Regions from separate parts of the Homo sapiens genome. Here region 1 is linked to region 2. Evidence: promoter capture Hi-C in 16 types of primary human blood cells and fetal thymus (Javierre and others, 2016). All regions are on one chromosome and are shown on one strand. Each heading gives the region's core, a stretch centred on a gene start or on the middle of the fragment in contact. The rest is flanking DNA. Distances are from core to core; before and after follow the strand shown. Region 1 overlaps FRMD4A (FERM domain containing 4A). Region 2 holds the start of FRMD4A-AS2 (FRMD4A antisense RNA 2).

What was found. Contacts are between HindIII fragments. The CHiCAGO score rates a contact against its expected background, and 5 or more counts as called.
Region 1: a contact is called between a fragment that was not itself captured here and the fragment with the promoter of FRMD4A-AS2 in region 2, in 2 of 17 cell types (total B cells and M0 macrophages). The highest score is 5.5, in total B cells.

What each region holds. Positions count from the first base shown.
Region 1 is chr10:13,648,646-13,652,982 of GRCh38, reverse strand. It overlaps FRMD4A (FERM domain containing 4A), which reads left to right. Exons shown (of 25, transcript NM_018027.5): 24 at 1,009-1,080. The coding sequence ends at 1,078. It also overlaps a transcript of PRPF18 not described here. Among named protein-coding and RNA genes, the nearest start is that of PRPF18, 64 kb to the right of the region's middle. The HindIII fragment of the contact is 2,542 bases long and covers 1,512-4,053 here.
Region 2 is chr10:13,989,449-13,993,821 of GRCh38, reverse strand. It overlaps FRMD4A-AS2 (FRMD4A antisense RNA 2), which reads right to left and starts at 2,242. Exons shown (of 3, transcript NR_199003.1): 1 at 1,830-2,242. The region is part of intron 2 of FRMD4A (FERM domain containing 4A); the gene reads left to right. The HindIII fragment of the contact is 11,405 bases long and covers 1-4,373 here.

The sequences.
Region 1 (4,337 bases), core at 1,533-4,032, 340 kb after region 2:
GGAATTCCAGCTCTGCCCTCTGTGACCCCAAACCCTGTCTTTCCCCACTATACCGGTAGTTAAGTGTGATCCCAAAGCCAGCAGCACGAGTGAGCCTCACCTGGGATCTTGTCAGAAATGCAAATTCTCGGGCTTACCTGTAACACAAAAAAAATCCAAAACTCTGGGGGTGAGCCCAGCAGGCTGCATTCTGATAAGCCCTCCAGGTGATGCTGACCCACACTCAAGTTTTGACAACCACTGAACGATCCCCTGCTGCCTCTGATTCCTTTTAAAATAAGAGAAACTGGAGCCCCAGCTCGGTGTTCCTGTGTCTGCTCCTACTTCTTGGGCTGTCTGTTGGACAGTAGCTGCCCCTTTGTCCTTTAGATCATTAACACTCACCCACCCACACCCCAGCTCTCACCTGTTTGGCCAGGCAGCCTCTGCAAGGTTTGGGGTCTAAGATTAACTCATAAAAGAATGACACATCTTTCATATATGTAATACATACCTCCAGTGACTAAACAAGAAACTTCAGATTGCAAGATCCCTCTCTAGATCTTCCAACTTTTCTGAATCATGCCCAGTCTCACCTGATCCAAATATATGATTGATTGTATTATTTGGCTGTCAACAGGCTCCGAAATGTACAAGCCCTCCTCAGGGTCCTATGCACTTAAGATGGTCTTGAAACCTGCCTATTTCACCACCTACAACTAGTGAGGACTCAAGCCAAATTTGAAAAACAGCAATTTTGGTTCTTGGCATAAACTGTTTGCTATGATGTGATACAAAATGAGGCCATGGGTAAAAGAGGGCCCGTCCCTCCTAACAAACTAGGTATTTTGACTCAATTATGGGGACTGAAAGTACTGCATGACTTGTATGATCTGTTGCTAACTCAGGTGTCTAATCAGCAAGCCTTTCGGATATATTAATAAGCTACTAATCGTGTCTGTGTCTGTGTCAGTGTCTCTCTGTAACATGACCTCTCTTCTCTTCCTCCTCCTGCTTTCCTTTGTTCAGAGAAGCAACAGAAAACTCACCCATTCTGGATGGGTCTGAGTCTCCACCTCACCAAAGTACTGATGAATAGAGGTACCGTAAGGGGAGTTTTGTTCCTACTGCCCATGAGTCTGTGGTCCCACATGTGTTGCTTTTGTCCATGTCATCATTTCCACAAGGATACATCTGAATGCTGTATTTATGCCTTATTTCTAGATACATGGGGAACTGGAACTATGTTTTTAGCTGAAGGTTCTTACATCAAAATTATGATATTCCTAACACTGCTTCCCAGAAAAGACCCCCAGAGTATGTTTTGTTTTGAGACAGAGTCTTGTTCTGTTGCCCAGGCTGGAGTGCAGTGGCATGATCTCGGCTCACTGCAACCTCTGCCTCCCAGGTTCAAGCGATTCTCCTGGCTCCCTAGTAGCTACAGGTGCATGCGTGGCTAATTTTTGTATTTTTAGTAGACACGGGGTTTTGCCATGTTGGCCAGGATAGTCTCAAACTCCTGACTTTAAGCTTTAAGTGATCTGTGCGCCTGGCCCCAAAGTATATTTTAGACTCACCATGTTCTATCTACATTCAAAGATTTGTAGACATTTTACTGTGAGTAATCAGTGTCCCTGAAAAGAACAGCATCACTGCAATGTAAGTTTCAAAGCACCAAGGGCCGACTCAGTGGCTCCAGAAGCACCCCCAGCATTCTTGAGTAACAGCTGTGCTGAGTACCAAAAGCTATGAGCACTGCTTTTCCAAATGTCCATAAGCCAACATTTTTATCACTACCACCATCACCTGGGAGCTCGTTAGAAAGCTAGTCTCCCGGGCACCACCCTGGCCTACTGAACCTAATGTGCATTTAACAAGATTCACGTCGAAATCTGCAAAGCACAGGGGCAGATAACAGTACCACCTGGTCTGGTTCCTAGCCCCAGGACCCTTACAGTCTAACTGGGACACAAGGGCTTGAAATCAAATTGCCTATCAGAAGATATACAAGGAGCATGAGAAACTGCTACACTTATGTATTAAGTGCTCTAAGACTTAGAAACAAAATGCAATGCTGAGAGGATTCAGAAATGAGGGGGTCACTTTCGAGTTCACGGAGATGTTATGTGAGCCTGGCTCAGAAGCCTGCCGTGGGAGGAGGGGGCTTAGACAGGTGGAGACAGAGACCATCCCAAGTGCAAAAACATGGATGCACAGATAAGGGTGAGGGGTGGTTAACAGTAGAGAGTCTTGTTTCCTGTAGAGAAAAAACTGGACTTTTGAAAAGTAAGTTAGGACAATATTGCAAAGTTGACAGATGGGCAATTAGGACAGGGACTTAGGCTTTGGAAGGAAGGTAGACCCCCTCCCCCAGCCCCAGTGCCAGGGTGATGTCATGAGAGCAGTATTTTTGAAGTAGGAAGAATGGCCTTTTTCTCCCCCGGTATGGGAGGGCGATCATCTGCTAAAGGTGATGGAGATAGGGCTGACAGCCAGAAGTAGAATTAACCAGGTTTGAAAGAGCTGCGGTGGGAATGTAGGCACTGCTTGAAATACCTACATACATACACGAATACATACACGAGTTCATGCTCATGCATACATGTGCACATGCAGGGACACACATACATTATACTGAGCAACAGCACCTTCCCAGACCAGGTAAGACAGGATGCCTCTAGAGGGCCTCATCCCCTATCCTCTGGCCTTGTGACCAACTGTGGGACTGTTCAACAACCCCAGTATGTGCCACCAGTTGGTTCTGTAAGTTAGTTATACGTTTAAAAAAATAATTCAGTTTGAAATTCCTCCCTCCCAGCAGCCCCACCTCCCTATGCCAAGCAGTTATAAACCACAAAACCCTGTGAGATGTGGGTGAATTTGCCATCTGTCTGGTATCAGACGGCCCTGGCTTAGCCAGTACCCTTTGCAGGCCACACATCTCTGAGCATAGCCCTGGGAAAGGGCATTCTTGCAGTGGAAAGCCCCCACAGATTCTGAAGTCACCACTTGCTGTGACCCAGACTGCCCAGGGCTAAGCTGCTCTTCTGGGTCACAGTTGAGAGAGCACACCTAGATCTTCATCCTGCCCCAGCTCATGTTCCAGTGAATGACTGACTTAGGTTTTTAGGTTTTTACTAGGGCAACTATTTAGTGGCCCCATTTGTATTATTTGTGAAGAATAAATGCTTCCTAAGGGTCTCTTTCGTAGCACATGGCATTCCTTGACTACTACCGGAAAATTGAATTTGTACTGAAAGGCAAAGGCTTAGCTGAGCAGCCAGAACAAGGGTCTCTTCCCCAGACTTGAGAATAAAAGACCAATACATGAAGCAACATTTATAGCTTTAAAAATACCTTACGTACTTCAATAACTATGTGGAAGCACTAAGAAAGATTCTGTATAAAACATCGCAAGTTTGGAAAAAATACATCTTTACATCTTTTCCTCCAGCTTCATTTTCTCAGAGGCAGGAGCAGGCCAGTGGTTTCCATACTGCGGCTCCTCTAGGAGCCACCTGAGAACCAAACCACCAATCCAGCATCTCCCACCCCATCATCCAGATCCTCCCGATGCCCTCTCATATGTGGGTTCTGTGACCCAGAAGCCTCCATAATGAACCACAGGAGAACACCATGGGCCAGCCAACAGTTAGGCTCTTCACATACCAAATAAACCACCACAGGAACCCTTAACCTCATCTACTGCCTGATCCAAACATCACTGCTTTGAACTCAATGGTCTTTCTTGAGCCTTTATGATCAATACATAGTGCACTTTTAGTCCCTCTGAAGCAGATTATGTTGTCACAATTATGACTCAACTTTAATAGTTTCAACCAGAAACTGTTTAGGATCCAACATACAAGAGAGTCAACTACATTTCATAATATTAGCCCATTTAAGAGTATTTTTCAAAGTGTGTTCTGTGGATGTTAATAGGTGATACTGTTCCAGAAGTTCTGTGGCAAACTAATCCAGGACTTCTCAGAACCTTTAATATATGTTTCATATACATTTACATTTCAGGCCTCTGAAAGGCAGAATCCTCAAATTTATTTATCCATGGAAGCTTTTTTTCCCCTCAGAGCAACTCACAGGACTACTTTGGGAAACACTGGCTAAGTGTTCCTAAGATCTCATGAAACCCCTTAGGGAAGTTTTATCCCAAACAGACCCAGATCATGTTTGTGTTAGAAACAAAAATTTCATCAACAGTTTAAGAAACTACTTACATGTGCCAGTATTCGTTAGTTACATATGAAAAACTCAGTTCAACAAGCGTAAGCAAACAAAAGCGTGTACCAGCCGATGTCACTGGAGCCCGGGCTGGCTGGGTCTCCTTCCATCTCTAGCTC
Region 2 (4,373 bases), core at 993-3,492:
TGCAAATTTTAAAATATATTTGAATACATTGAATACACGTCCTCCAGCTAGAGGAAACAGGAAGATGACATCCTCTTTGCTGAGAACATGGTTTTATTACCTAGCAATAGGACAACAACTTCAGAAGCAACTGAACCTCTGGTCTAATTATTGCCTGATAGAACAACTTATTAATATCATCAGCAACATTTTTTTGTTTTGGGAAGATATTCTCCATTGATGGTGTTAAAACAGAACAAATCAAGCAATTTCAGCCAATAGAACAATCACCCTACCACCTAGAGGTATATTTTGCTAACTCAAATTTGCAGACCAGCAGTGTGTGGTCCTACTTAAAACTAGAGATTGCACAAGAGCCAAACAGAGGTTCTTTTATGATCAAGGTGGCTGACTGGTAACAGCTGGACTAAAACCTTTCAGTTCTAAATCATCTCTTTCATGCTAGATGGAGTGGAATTCTGGGGTCCCAGCCAAGTCCTTGAGCAAGAACTTGAATGGATTCACAGCTCCTTTTCTGATGGAAACGTTGGCTAAACCCTGAGGAACTCTGGATCTCACCACGATGTCAAATAGAATGATGTCCCTGCTGGGGGAGGAGGCAAGTCAGGCTTCTCCATTGTCCCTTCTAAACAGCAGCTCACACTTGTCACATCCACAGCAGAGATGCAACTCTTCAGTTTTAAACTCAGGATGTCCTCACTGTCTCTTGCCGGATAAGGCAACTTTGAATTCACTACCTTCTAGCACTTAGCCCAAAGTTTTGTAGGGACATAGGACACGCAAGAGAAGCAGATCAATGGATATGTTGGCTAGTCATTACTTTAATCTCTTTACACTAAATCCTTTTTTTTTTTTTTTTTTTTTTTTTTGAGACAGAGTCTCACTCTATTGCCCAGGCTGGAGTGCAATGGCACAATCTTGGCACACTGCAACCTCTGCCACCGGGGGTCAAGCGATCCTCCTGCCTCAGCCTCCCAAGTAGCTGGGATTACAGGCATGCGCCACCATGCCTGGCTAATTTTTGTATTTTTAGTAGAGACAGGGTTTCACCATTTGGTCAAGCTGGTCTTGAACTCCTGACCTCAGGTGATCCGCGTGTCTTGGCCTCCCAAAGTGCTGGGATTACAGGTGCGAGCCACCATGCCTGGCCTACACTAGATCTTTATTAAATTAAATAATCAAATATCAACATAGTTATGCTGTATTTTCTCAACTCCCTGCTGAAATTATTTTACAAAGTTAAGATTTAATTCCTCTCTATTGAGGGCTGATGTTTAGTGTCATTTTGTTTTGAATGAGCAGCAACCTATTCTTGGCCTGGACTGGGGCTGGCCATGTGACCCGAGACTTAGGCAGGACATGGAGGTGGGTGGGCAGGACCCAAGGCCAGGCATGGGAGTTTGCTGGGGTCAGTGAGCCTGCAAGCCAACCCACAGACAGGCTAAAGACTCATGAATCCGGTTAGATGTGTCAAATATAGCTGGAGAATCAAGAAACAGGTGGAGACCAGAGAAATCAGAGGAGAAGAAACCAATTTAAAGCAAAGGTAGAAGCAAGTGTTTGTAGAAACCCCTTGAACCACTGGCATAGCTCCAGGCATGTCTAGGCATAGCCTGGGCTATAGGCAGAGATGAGGTGGTTAGGATGGTATCTTAGTATCATCTTGCTGAGAAAGCCAGCAGAAGAAACATCTATAAGCACGCTTCTGAGGCTTTTTCAAAATGACCATTGAAGATCTTGTTCCTTATGTTATTCAGTGCTTTTTATATATTCCACTCCGTTAATTCCTTTTAGAAGATAATAAGAAGTATGTGATTCAATGTACTTACCTTTTTACCTTTGCTGCCAGGAAACTCAAGCTAAAGTTGAGGCACAACCTCAGTAACTTGCTCATTCTGGATGTCTTTTCATACTTTTAACTTATTGTTTTCTTCTTTTTTTCTATTTTAGATTACCCTTAATTTTCTAGTTTACCCTCATATTCCATGTAAATATGTGCACATATTTTGTGCCTTTGCCAAGCAGCATGGAATCCTATAACCTTCTCTTCTGTGTGTGTTACTTTCTGTAAGGGAAACCAACACAATGGAAACGTAGCCCATTGAGAGTAAAAAATAGAACAAAGTATGCTACTTCCCTTCTCTTGGCAGAACGCATTGTCCCAACAGGTGTATCAAAAATGCTTCAAGGTAAGCCAAGACATGGGAACATTGTGCTCTGAGCAAGGTGGTTCTTTTTTCCCAGAAGGGAATGAATTCATTTGGAATGTTAGGCCCTGACAGAACAGAGCCACTCCATTCCACTCCATTGTGTCCTGGGAGTACACAGGGACTTGGTGCAGCCCCTAGAGGCAGTGGCAGTTTACAGGCATTCCTGGGAAGAACAGAGGGGGTCCCGTTGGAGGAAAGCAGGTGCACACTGTCCTGAATCTCCGCGCCTGATGCCCACCTTCATACAAGCTGCAGCTATGCCTGGGGGATGACAGTTCTGCAGAGTCCAAACTCACAAGGATAAGGGCTGGAAAAGAGGCTTTGCTGGTTTTCTGTTCCCACCAGGATGTTGGAAGCCTCCTTTTTGTCCTTTTCACTCTACGCTTCTTTTTTCTTTTCCTTTCTAAATGTTGCTGTCAGTGTACTCAGCTGAATGCTATCAGATACACAAATAACAATAGCTTCCTGGGAACGATTTGCTGCTGTGGGTCATGGGCCAGTGCCAAGAAGCCCAGGCACGCCAAGCACAGTGTTTTAGGAAAACCGCGGCTTTCAGAGAGCAGCTTCAGGATAATTGTTCAATTCCATTAGGGATTCTGGCTCCGAATGCACCTCGGAACCTGGCCCCAGTGTCTCCTCCAGGGGAACTTAGAGGTCCCCCACTCCATACCTTGGCTGGCTTTCTTTTTGATTTGTTTAATTTTCAAGAACCATCATTACTGGAATCTCGTATCTGATTGCGGTGTTCATGGAAAGAAAAATGGGAACAAGGGCTGAGAGACAGTGAGGCTTCCAGGGTGATCAGGTTGACTCGCAGAGGGAGAAATAACAGATTCCCAAATGCGGATTCTGGCACTTACACGTTTCTGAGTTTCCGATCTGGAGATCGGAGAGGTCACCGTCCTAGGGCTTGTCAGCCTCGCCAGCCTGCTGGGGCTCCCATTGTTCTGCTCAGAGTCCGGGAAGCAGATCCTGCTCCCTGATGACAGCTTCAGGCCGAGATGTTCCTGCAATGGAAGGTTTCCCGGGCAGGCTTTGCTTCCATCCTGGAGAGAGTTAACCAGGTCAGCCAGGGTCAAGGAGCAGATATCAAGTTACATATTTTCCTCCCTCATTTCCTAGCACACTCCCAGACATGCTCCACAAGGAAGGCCAGGAAGGAAGCATACCCGCCCAACAGACAAGACAGGCCAGGACCCTGGAAAGAAGAGGAAGGCACGTCTCTGGGCCTTCTCAGTCCTTACTTCCTCCTCCCTCCTTGTCCCACATTCCCCTCTGGATGGGTCTCACTCTCCAAGAAAATGGCCAGGAGCAAATCCAGGCAGAGAGGGAAGTTACTGAGACCCAGAAGCACAGCCAAGAATAGAAAGTACCTTTAATGAGCTCTTTCTATGTGCTTAATCTATGCAGCTGTTTTCTCCTCTGATCCTCAGAGCAGCCCTTTGAGGTTGGCTCTTATTCCTAACCCCACTTTCTAGAATAGGAAAACAGAGAATAGAGAGAGATTAAGTCATTTGTCCAGGGTTACGCAGCCAGCAGTGGCAGATCCAGGGTTTGAACCCAGGTAGTCTGACTTCAGAAAACTCTCCAGAGCGAATCTAAATGGGGGTCTAACCTAGAGTGAGACCCTTGGAATCCAAGCTGCTGAGAAAAGTGTCCCTTTAGAAAGGAACTCTAGGTCTGGTTGCCAGATTCAGCAAATGAAAATACAGGATGCCCAGTTACATCAAATTTCAATAAACAATGAATCATTCTTTCATCTAAGCATGTTCCATGGAGTTTGTCTGAAATTCAAATGTAACTGGGTGTCCTGTATTTTATCTGGCAACTCTTAACTATAGGGCCACTCCCATCTCTCTGCCCTCTGTCTTGTCTTCCTCTCATCATCAATAGGCTGTCTCCCTGCTTCCATTTCCCCTCTGATGCCCATCTCTGGAACAACTGAGCTGTACCTGTCCATGTATTCTTATTTAAAATCAATTATTGGCTGGGCGCGTTGGCTCACGCCTCTAATCCCAGCACTTTGGGAGGCCAAGGTGGGTGGATCACGAGGTCAAGAGATTGAGATCTTCTTGGCCAACATGGTGAAACCCCATCTCTACTAAAAATACAAAAATTAGTTGGGCGTGGTGGGAGGCTGAGTCAGGAGAATCGCTTGAACCC